Regions from separate parts of the Homo sapiens genome. Here regions 1 and 3 are each linked to region 2. The links are contacts of gene promoters, found by promoter capture Hi-C in human tissues and cell types (Jung and others, 2019). All regions are on one chromosome and are shown on one strand. Each heading gives the region's core, a stretch centred on a gene start or on the middle of the fragment in contact. The rest is flanking DNA. Distances are from core to core; before and after follow the strand shown.

What was found. Contacts are between HindIII fragments. The study calls those that stand out against the background at their distance.
Region 1: a fragment that was not itself captured here is called in contact with the fragment with the promoter of COL11A1 in region 2 in 1 of the 25 tissues and cell types used here (H1 embryonic stem cells).
Region 3: a fragment that was not itself captured here is called in contact with the fragment with the promoter of COL11A1 in region 2 in 3 of the 25 tissues and cell types used here (aorta, bladder and hippocampus).

The regions. Positions count from the first base shown.
Region 1 is chr1:103,153,545-103,157,317 of GRCh38, forward strand. No RefSeq gene overlaps it. Among named protein-coding and RNA genes, the nearest start is that of COL11A1, 47 kb to the left of the region's middle. The HindIII fragment of the contact is 3,157 bases long and covers 686-3,773 here.
Region 2 is chr1:103,107,128-103,110,990 of GRCh38, forward strand. It overlaps COL11A1 (collagen type XI alpha 1 chain), which reads right to left and starts at 1,395. Exons shown (of 67, transcript NM_001854.4): 1 at 946-1,395. The coding sequence starts at 1,051. The HindIII fragment of the contact is 6,490 bases long and covers 242-3,863 here.
Region 3 is chr1:103,059,787-103,063,458 of GRCh38, forward strand. The region is part of intron 4 of COL11A1 (collagen type XI alpha 1 chain); the gene reads right to left. Among named protein-coding and RNA genes, the nearest start is that of COL11A1, 47 kb to the right of the region's middle. The HindIII fragment of the contact is 5,903 bases long and covers 1-3,672 here.

The DNA.
Region 1 (3,773 bases), core at 1,014-3,513, 47 kb after region 2:
AAGAAAAAAATTCCAAAATTTGTATTGAATCAGGAAAGATTCAAGGTAGCCAAAGCAATCTTGAGAAAGAAGAACAAATCTGGAGTAATCACACTTTCTAATTTCAAAGTGCATTACAATGCTACAGTAATCAAACTAGTGTGGTACTTGCATAAAAACAGACACATAGACCATTGCAATAGAATGAACAACTCAGAAATAAACTCAGGCGTATATGGTCAACTAATATTTGACAAGAGTGTCAACAATACAGAAAATGGGGACATGATAATCTCTTCAATAAATGGTGTTGGGAAATTGGCTATCTTCATTAAAATAAATAAAATTAGATGGCTATTGTACATCACTCATAAAAATTAACTTGAAATAGATTAAACTTAAATGCAAGCTCTGAAACTATAAAAGCAGGGAAAAAGAACATAAGGTAAAAGCTTTTGACAATGCTCTTTGCAATGACTTTTTGGATACAACACCAAAAGCACAAGAAACAAAAGCAAAAATAAGTAAGTGGGACTATATCAAGTTAAAGTTTCTGTGAGGCAAAGAAACAATCAGCTAAATGAAAAGTAAATAAATTTTATCTTACTGTTATAGAGTAAAATAAAATATCCGTTATATGGTTTGGCTTTGTGTCCCCATCTAAATTTCATCTCAAACTGTAGTCCTTTCTCAACACCTCGATTACAATTAGAGATGAGATTTGGGAGGGACACAAAACCAAACCATATCACAGATATTTTGAGAGGTAGGAGGTGATTGGGTCATGGGGGCTGTTTCCCCCATGCAGTTCTCATGATGGTTAGAGAGTTATCGTGAAATCTGATGGTTTTGTAAGTGTTTGGCAAGTTCCTCCTTCACTCACACTTCTCCCTTCTGCTGGCTTGTAAAGAAGGCGCCTGCTTCCCTTTCACCTTCCAACATGATTGTAAATTTCCTGAAGCTTCCCCAGCCATGTGGAACTGTGAGTCAATTAAGCCTCTTTCATTTATAAATTACCTAATCTCAGGTATTTCTTCATAGCAGTGTGAGAACAGACTAATACAATCTGCAAGCCATATGTCCAATAAGGTTTTAATATCCAGAATATGTAAGAAACTCATACAACTCAATAGCAAAAATTAGTCAAACAAACAAATATCAAAAACAAATAATTCAACTAAAAACGGGAGAAAGCGCTTGAATAGACATTTATCCAAAGTAAGTATACAAACGACCAACATGTACATGAAAAAGATGCTCAACTAATCACCAGGAAATGTTATTCAAACCCAGAATGAATTATTACTTCACACCTGTTAGGATGACTGCTATGAAAAAGTTTAAGATATAACAAATTTGGCAAAGAGATAGAGAAAAGGGAACGCTTGTATACTATGAAGAAGGTGGTGATGCAAATTGATACAGTTGTTATGGAAAACAGTATGGAGTTTCCTCAAAAAATTATAAATAGAACTACCGTATAACCCAACAATCTCACTTCTGGATATATATCTGAAGGAACAAAATCAATAGTTTGAAGAGATATGTGCACTCCCATGTTCATTGCAGCATTACTCACAATAGACAAGACATGGAAACTACTTAAGTGTTCACTGACAGATGAATGAAGAAATTGTGGTGTGCATATATGTGTGTGTATGTATGTGTGTGTGTATATATATGTGTGTGGGTGTGCATATATAGATCAATTAAATATTTTAATATTGTAATTATGGCCCTTTAAAAATTTTAGAAAAAAATACATTTGTGTCACAAGTTCTCCACAGCAAAAGAAACAAGTTTTTTTGTTGTTATTATCTCTAGAAAAGAAAGAACAAGTTAAGATAAAATAATTAAATACCACAGAGCCATTTGTGTTAGGTTTGTAGTTACAAACATACCTTGGAACTTGAGAGGGTAGAAAAATGCTAGTAATGTCTCAGAACATAGACCTCATGCTTGTAGAAACTTTTTATTATTCCGTGCATTCTTTTTTTTTTTAGACGGACTTTCGCTTTTGTGGCCCAGGCTGGAGTGCAGTGGCGCAATCTCGGCTCACGGCAACCTCCGCCTCCCGGGGTTCAGCGATTCTCCTGCCTCAGCGTCCCGAGTAGCTGGGGTTACAGGCATGCACTACCACGCCCAGCTAATTTTGTATTTTTTGTAGAGATGGGGTTTCTCCATGTTGGTCAGGATGGTCTGGAACTCCGGACCTCAGGTGATCCGCCTGCCTTGGCCTCCCAAAGTGCTGGAATTACAGGCATGAGCCACCGCGCCCGGCCTAATCTGTGCATTCTATTGAAAATTTATTTAAATTAGAGTGAAGGAAAAAAATAGACATCCACCTACAAAGAAAAAAAGAAACAGAGTAGATATAACAAACATTTAATATCAATAAAATTCTAGAAGCCAGAAAATGGTTGGAAAGTGGTACTTTCATTTAGAAGATGGTAAAAAAATAAAATCTAAGTGTTCAGAGAGCAAGCCAACAAGTAAGACCTTCATGTCAAAGAATCCACTAAGTCTTAGTACTTAGAGACACCAGGTACCTCTGGAAAATAACCATTAATAAATTTTGAAGTTTATAAGAAATATGTAGATCCTCTAAGCCTTTCCTCTGTTTGAAAAAACAGACACATTTTCTGGCGACCTCTGGCAAAAGAATATGGAAAGACTGAACAAGACAAACGGTATTTAGGGATAAAAGAGAATGGGCATGAAACACGGTTTTTAAGAAAAATAGTGGAAAATAGTAAATTTTAATATTGAAGTCCCTTATACCTCTGGATTCTCAATATTCCTAATTGCATTGCTTTGTGCCAAATGAGGCACAAGAAAATGAAGATCTTCTGTCTACTGTTATTGCTATGAGCAATAAAATGTCCTTTTTTCTTGGATCCTCTAGTCTTGTGTTTTCTGCCAACATTCATGAAAATGAGGCATGTTAATGTGCTAGCTTGCAATTAGGGCAAAATATCAGCCACTTCATAATTCTTAATGGTCACATATTTACAAATCAGAAAACATGGCTCACAAGGTTAGGTGATATGTTCAAGGTCACATAACTAACAGAGCATAAGGTCAGATATGAACCTGCCTATATGACTCCAACTTCACCAACAGATATGTTATTTGAGTTAACTATTTGATAAGCAAGACATCTTAGTAAAAAGGATTTAGTGATGGGGGAAGTTATCTGTGTAACACATTCACATAGGATATATCGGGCTTTCATTGGCATGGTTATTAAGAATTATCTATAAATACTTCGGAAGAAGAAGCTTTACCTTCCCTTAAAGCAAGCAAAACTCTAAGGATGGTCTTCTTAAAAATCTGCAATGGACCCTGGAACAGTAAACTTTTCCTGAGTGTTATTATAATATATTCTTCTTTTGAAAGATTTCTGGATGACATTAATTATAACAATGAGGTATTAAAGTAATGTGATGTCCAAGAACGCTACTCTTTATTATCCTTAACTTCAAAACAAGAGTGGCAAGTGTTTAGTCCAACAGAAAATAAAAATCAAACTGGAAAAACCACAAAGTGATTTCAAACACATGAAGCTGCTGCTACTGCTGAATAATGGTTAGCCTTGACCAACATCTCTCTTTCCCACTTCTTCTGATTGCCTTCCAATTACAGGAACCACAGGAATTAACTCTAGGCAAACAAAGCCCTGGACGTGTGATAATAATCTTTGCCACAAAATACATGAGCTAGTCTGGAAAACCTCACCTTCAGAAGAGGACTTTCATTTTTGTTAATGCATTGCAAACTTTTTCGGAGATGCC
Region 2 (3,863 bases), core at 145-2,644:
GGGAGAAGGCGGAGGGGAGGAGTGAAGTCGCTCTCCCTCCGTGGGTACTGACAGGGTTGCAGACTTCCGAGCAGGTCTGGCCATTGAATATTTGGTGGTGCCACGTAGGAACTGTTCCTTACCTCTCTCCTCCCACCCTACCCACACCCCCTCCCCTTCCCTCCCAATCCCTAGTCCTCCGCCCCCACCCCATTTGCTTGGCGACTTTCATCATTCTCCAAGAGAACTGCACGTCCAACCTGCAAGAAGAAGCGGAGGGGTGGGGTGGGGGGAGTCACTGAAATTCAGGGGAAAGTGTTCTCCCTATCTTGAACCTATTCCTAATAATCTGCCAATTTTTGTCCACTTAAAATAGATTGACCCTCCCCCGCCCCCCAAACACACAGAGTGTTCCTAATCTTCTAGATTCACCCCCCTGGTTTCTCTTATATCCCCAAAACTAAAACAGCCTGCTTCTCACTTGGTTGCAGACAAAGAACTTTATCAAGGTTCATTTTATACCCTTTATATTTTCTCCTCAGCTCACCCTTAAAAAGATATTCCCATTAGTTAGAATCTGAAGAAACCAGATGTGTTCCAAGGGCAGTCTAAAGACTGTGCCTCAAACAAAAGCTTTGTATAACTGCCCTTGTGTTCAAGGTAATATTTTTCCTCTTTTCAAAGAGGCTGGAAAGTGGTGAAGGGCATTTTCAGCAGGCTCTCCTCCTGACAGATCTTTTTTTCCTGCTACCTACCTCGTCTCCCTTTATTGTCCCGCCTACATTCATCTCTTTCTCCAGTTTCCAATTCCAACCTGGTAGCAGCTACAATCTGGATTGTATTTAAGGGAATTGCTTTTTTTTTTTTTTCTTGAAGAGCGGGGAGGAAGGGTAAAGTGGGGGGAGGGGCGCAGAAGCAGTAGGACCGACGGCAATCTCCCACCTCCCCAAATCCATTTTTTCTTACCTCCTCTGACCTCTCTAGCTTGGAAGAGGAAGGTCAATGCGAGGGTTGTTACGGTGAAATCCCAGAGCCACCGTTTCGTTTTCCACCTAGAGGACCACGGCTCCATCTCCGAGCCCCGCACTCACAACTGTGAACTCAACCCACGAAATTGCGACTGCAGACCAACTTCGTCCTTTCCAAGGTATCGCCAGGGATGTTTGCTACACAGCCATTGGGGAGGGAGAGGGGGAAAAAGTCAAAGGGCTTTTTCTTCTAAATTTGATGGTTTGCGTTCTTCGTGTCTCTAGCCCTTTCCTCTCCCTCTGAGTTGGCCCCACCGGCCGGGACCCTCCGGCCGCGACCCTCTGATCCTTCCTCTGCCGGGCCCTGCCTTCAGAATGAAGGCAGATGAGGGGCTTCCACCAACAAGCTGAGAGTACTGTGTGCCCCTAAAGGCTTCATGCCGTCAGTGGGCTGGACGAGTGGCTCCGGGCAGCCCCCTCCTCCGCCCACTCCCCTCCCTGCTCCCAGCTCCCCCTCCCAGGGCGAAACTGACAAGCAGGCTGAGGGTCAGACCCAATCACACGACTCTGGGGCGGCCCCAAGCCCGCCCCCGCCTCCCTCAGCCCAAGAATGAGGACTCCGAGCAGGCCCAGCCCACCAACCACCCCCCATCTCCCCACTCCTCTCCTCCCTCCTCGCCTACCAAATCCCCGAGAAAAAATGGGAGGGAGTTACGGGGGACGCGTGCTTGGCTCCAGCACTTTGGGAATGAAAGGAATTGCAGGAGAGCCCCGGAGCACACGGAGTTTTCAAGGAGCTTCTGTATTCAATAAAAACAGCTACTTGTCTACTTGCACCCGTCTGTTAGCCTCTCGCTGGTCGGCGGGAGAGGGGAGGAGGCCAGCGCCTGATCGGCCACACCGCTGGAGTCCTGGGCTGGCAGCGGTAACCTTATCCTTGTGCAAAAATCTGCTTCGTATGGCAGACGTGGAACCAGTGGACTCATTGCGCTGCCTACTCTGAAAAGTGTTTTTATTTTTATTTTTTTAACCCAATAATTAGAAGAAAGGAATGAAGATAGAATGGAGGGACCCTAGAAGTCAAAACCTAGAGCATGTAGGGAAGTCCTCTTTGGAGATCTGAAACTGACAGGTTTATCTCTTAAACGTTTAAATTCAGCACTAGGTTCATTCAGTGGCTTTCCTCTTAAAAGAGTTGAACTGTACTCTGAGGGAGAAGGAGGAAAAAATTTATGGGAGCTGACATTAAGAGGGTGAGTAATTTAATTTTCCAGCTGATTCTGTTCTGATCCTGGATGAGGGGGTACTGAGGAGTGTGTAGAAAAGGCGAGGAAAGCAACTAGCAGAAATCTCCAAGAGGCTCGGCCCACAGCTCCTCATTAAGGGCCTGGCCCTGGCCCTCAGCCTCGGGAGCCAAAAACGTGGTCACTCCACAGTGAGAGTAATGAAGAGGGCAGGTTTCTAAATTCCCTCTCTACTTAACCCATCCTCAAAGTAATCCTCTTACACCTGGAATATAGATTCCCAAGTCACTTTTTCCACGTTAAAATCATTCCATTCTATTGACTCCTTTTTGTTCGTTAATAATTCCTAAGATGTTTCTCTCAAAGATTTTCTGGAACAGTGCCCATCAGGGTGCCAGCATACATTAGCCACTCAATAGAGATGGGTTGGATGAATGAACACATTTTTCTGTTGACAAAGACTAGAAGCATTGGCCAGGGCCTACTTTGAGTATTTAAGTCATTTAAATGCTTAAAGGCCCTCAACTAAGTTTACTGGGTACATATGTTCAATTCTACAGCTGCCACTAATCTTTAGGAACTCAGTTTTCTATTAGTCATCAAAATATGCCTCATGATCTATCAGATTACATCAAATCTCTTCATGCAGTTTAAAATTGGAAGAAAGGTGATCAAAGACTAGATTGAGCCCTTATAGGGGTATAACAGCATGAACAGAGACATATAAACTGAAGAAAGCAACTAGAAAATACCTTCAATATAAATATCACTCTCCATAACAAAGAACTACTCCTTTATCAAGAAGCTATCTCTTAGATCACAGGTAAAAAAATACTTGACATTTGTAATGCTGTTGGCAGAATGTTTGGGATGCCTCATATCAGCTGCAGAGAAATATCATCAACTAGTTCTTCAGATTACAACCTTAAACTGTTGGTTAAAATAATTTAATATCATATTGCATTTGAACCTGAAATGCACAATTACAAATTAAGACCCTTACAGTAAAAATATATGTATTTACCATCTTCATTATCCCTCATCGTCTCACAGATGGAAAATTTGTATATATTGGCTGTTTCCAAACTTGTGTACAAACTGATTTTTCTGTCGACTCTTCAGATATTTTAAAAATTACTTTTTACATCTTCTCTCAAATGTAAAATAGTGAAATGAATGCAAGTTTAGAAATACGTATTTGTGAAGCTGCCAGAATTCTAAATCAATTCAATAGCCAGAGAGAGTTACGGTGCTTGTAGCAACATGTACAAATGGTGTTCCAAATTGTCTCTTAATAGCTCTCAAATTTATTGAGAGTTCTGGGGCCTGATACTGTTCTAGAAGGTGAGAAATGATGCAGTCAATCTAGCAGTCCCTACTTTCTGGTCACAACTCAGACCTTCTCACTGCTGTGAAAGGGTCCTTTCAGGCAAAGCATCTTGGGTGAATAGAGTTATTACCACCTTATGCTCTCTGTACGTTGTGGTCTGAATTCCTCTGGCCACTGCCCAGCTAGGCATAATCTGGGTCTCAATGAATGCCTCTAGAAGGAAACATAGCAAATTCATGGTGAGGAATAATTATATCTAAGCCCTGTAGTCTGTTGCTAGATGCCAGATCTAGAGCCTCCCTAGGAACCAGCCCATGGATTTACAGGAGATTAACTCAGTGA
Region 3 (3,672 bases), core at 28-2,527, 47 kb before region 2:
TTGAGGAGGTGATAATCAAAACTTCCAAAACTAAAAGCAAAGAGAAAAAAAGCTGGGAAATACAAAACTAAACAGGATATCTAAAAGCTTTGGGACAACAACAAAATATGTAATTACACACAATAGGAATACAAGGAGAAAGAGAGAAAAGAATAGAACCAACATTTGAAGCAATAGTGACTGAGAATTTGCCCAAATTAATGTCAGACATCAAACCAAAATTCCAGAAGTATAATATTCAAATATCAGACCAAAAATCTGGGAATATCATTTTCAAATATCAGAAAATCTAAGATAAATTTAAAAATATTAAAAGAACCCAGAGGGGAAAAAAACCAACTTACCTATACAAGCGAAGATAAGAATTACATCTGACTTATCAGAAATCATACAAGAAAGAGAGACTAAAGTGAAATATATAGTGTTGAGAGAAAAATACCACCAAACTAGAATTCTGTACCCTGAGAAATCATTCTTCAAAAGTGAAGGAGAAATATAGACTTTCTCAGACAAACAAAAATTGAGGAATTTGCTGCCAGTAGGCCTGCCTTGCAAGCAATGTTAAAATAAGCTTTTCAGAAATAATAAAAATTATATAAGTGAGAAGCTTAAATCTACATAAACTATTCAGAGAATGAATAAGTGAAGGTAAAATATTTTTTATTATTATTAATTGATCTAAGGTATGAGTTTTTTCAAAATAATAATAGCAATAATGGATTTCACTGCATATATGCTTATGTATAAGTAAAATGAATGATTGCAATGACAGAAAAGGCAGGAGAGAGGAATTTGAAATATTTTATAAGATACTTGCTTGCATTACTCATAAATCAGTATAGTGTTATTTAAAAGTTGACTTGGAATAGGTGTAAGTTCATATTTAAAAACCTAGCCAGGTGAGGCGGCACATGCATTTAATCCCAGCATTTTGGGAGGCCAAGGCTGGTGGATTTATTGAACCCAGGAGTTTGAGACAAGCCTGGGCAACACAGTGAGACCCTATCTCTACAAAAAAATAGAAAAGAATCAGCCAGGCATGGTGGTACTGGAAGGATCACCTGAGCCCAGGGTAATAAATGGAACATAATAACATATATGGTGAATATTATTCTAACTATATATATAATTGCCTTAAATATGAATGATTTAAATACACTCATTAAAGACAGGTTGTCAGAGTGGATCAAAAAAAAACCAAGGCTCAATTACATGTTGTCTACAAGAGACACACTTTAAATATAAAAACACATACAAAGTAAAAGGAAGGGTATAAAGGTATAACATTCTAAAACTAATAAAAAGAAAACAGGAGTAGCTAAATTAATTTCACACAGTGCAAACTTTGGAGCAGGGAAAATTATTAGAGATAAAGTGAGGCATTACATGATAATAAGGGTAAAAAGGTCAGTGCACCAAAAAGACATAAATCTTTAATGCATATGCACCTAACAAAATACATGAAGCAAAATCTAATAGATATGGAAGGAAAAATAGATGAATCCACTATTACATTTAAATGGTAAACACCATTCTAACAGAAATGAAAATATACAGCAGGCAGAAATTAGTAAGGACAAAGTTGAACTAAAAACACTATTAATCAAAAAAGATAATTTTCATATATATACTCCTATAACCAATAACAGCAGATTACTTATCGTTCTAAAGTTCACATGGACATTCCTCAAGATATACTACATTCATGGCCAAAAAGAAAACTCTTAAAAATTTGAACAAATATACATAATCCAATAACTGCTCTCAAACCGTAACAGAAAGATAACTGGGAAATCCCAAAATAATTGGAAATGTAAAAACATACTTCTAACTAATACATGGATTGAAGACAAAATCTCAGGAATAATTTAAAAATATTATAAACAAAATAAAAATCAAAATATAACTTTTCTTTGAGGGAAATCTATAGCATTGAATGAATATATTAGAAAAGAGGAAAGATCTAAAATCAACTGTCTAAGCTTCTATCCTAAGAATCTAAACAAAAAAGAGGAAAATAAATCTGAAATAAACAGAACAAAAGAAAATTAAATTACACCAGAAGTAATAAAACAGACAGCAGAAAGTCACCATAGAATTAGCATCCAAACCAAAACCTGATTCTTTCAGAATGTTAATAAAATTTATAAGCCTCTAGCTAAGCCAACTAAGTAAGAGATAAGTTACAAATTATTATTGGCAGGAAAAAGAGGAGATATCACCACAGATCCCATGGACATTAAAAGGATGATAAAAGAATATTATGAAAAACTCTGTGCCCACAAATTTGATAAATTAGATGAAATAAGTCAATTCCTTGGTAGATCCAATCTGTAAAAACTCATAAATAAAGAATTAGAAAATCTGAAAAGGTCCAATAAGAAGATTGAATCAAAAATTAATAAACTTTCTAAAGAGAAAGCATCAGAACAAGATGGGTTCACTGTTGAAGTCTATCAAACATTTAAGGAAAAAGATATACCAATTCTCTGCAACCTTTTTCAGAATATAGAAGCGAAAGGAATATTACTAACTGATCTTATGAGGTCACATCACCCTAATATCAAAACCAGGTGAAAACATTAAAAGAAAATAATACTACAGACCAATATCTCTCATGAACATAAATGCAAAAATCCTTAACAAAATATTATCAAATTGAATCCCAAGGTATATAAAATAAGTAAATGCCATAGTCAAGTGGAATTTATCCCAGGTATGCCAGGCTGTTTCAATATTTGAAAATAAATTAGTATCACCATCAACAAGCTAAAGAAAAAATAAATAAATTATCATATCATAGATGCAGGAAAGCATTTGACAAAATACAGCATTCATTCATGATTTTAAAACATGTTCTGAAAACTAGGAACAGAAGGACATTTTCTCAAACTGATCAGAAAGAAGGCAAGGATGTCCTCTGTTAATATTGCATTTCTACATCATACTGGGAGTCCTAGTTGATGCAGTAAGACAAGAAAAGGAAATAAAATGTATTCAGATGGGGAAGAGAAAAATTAAACTTTTCCACAGATTACATAATTGTCTAGGTAAAAAATCCAAAATAATTGACAAAAAAATTGGAAATAATAAATGATTGTTACAAGGTTGTGTATACAAGGTATATAAAACATCAATCATTTTCTTAAGAAGAATTTGAAATTTATCACTCAACACTATTTACATGAGCACTCAAAAAAGAAATACATATGTATAAATGTAACAAAATAAATATAAGATCTATATGAAGAAAACTACAAAACTCTGATGAAGGATATCGAACAACTTTAAAAATAAAAATATTCTATGTTCATGGATAGAATGACTCAATACTGTCAAGATGTCAGTTCTCCTCAACTTGATCTATAGATTCAATACACTCACAATTAATTTCCCAGCATGTTATTTTGTGGATCTTTCCAAACATATTCCAAATTCATAAGAAGAAAAACATCCAGAATAGTCAATTAACTCAATATTAAAGGTAAAGAACAAAGACAGAGAACTGACATTATCTGACTTTAAGACTTAATATAATATTACAATAATGAATACAACGTAGTATTGGTGGAAGAACTGATAAGTAGATCAATGGAATAGAATAAAGATCCTAGAAAAAGATCCATATAAATATACTAAACTGATCTTTGACAAAAGGAGCAAATGAAATAC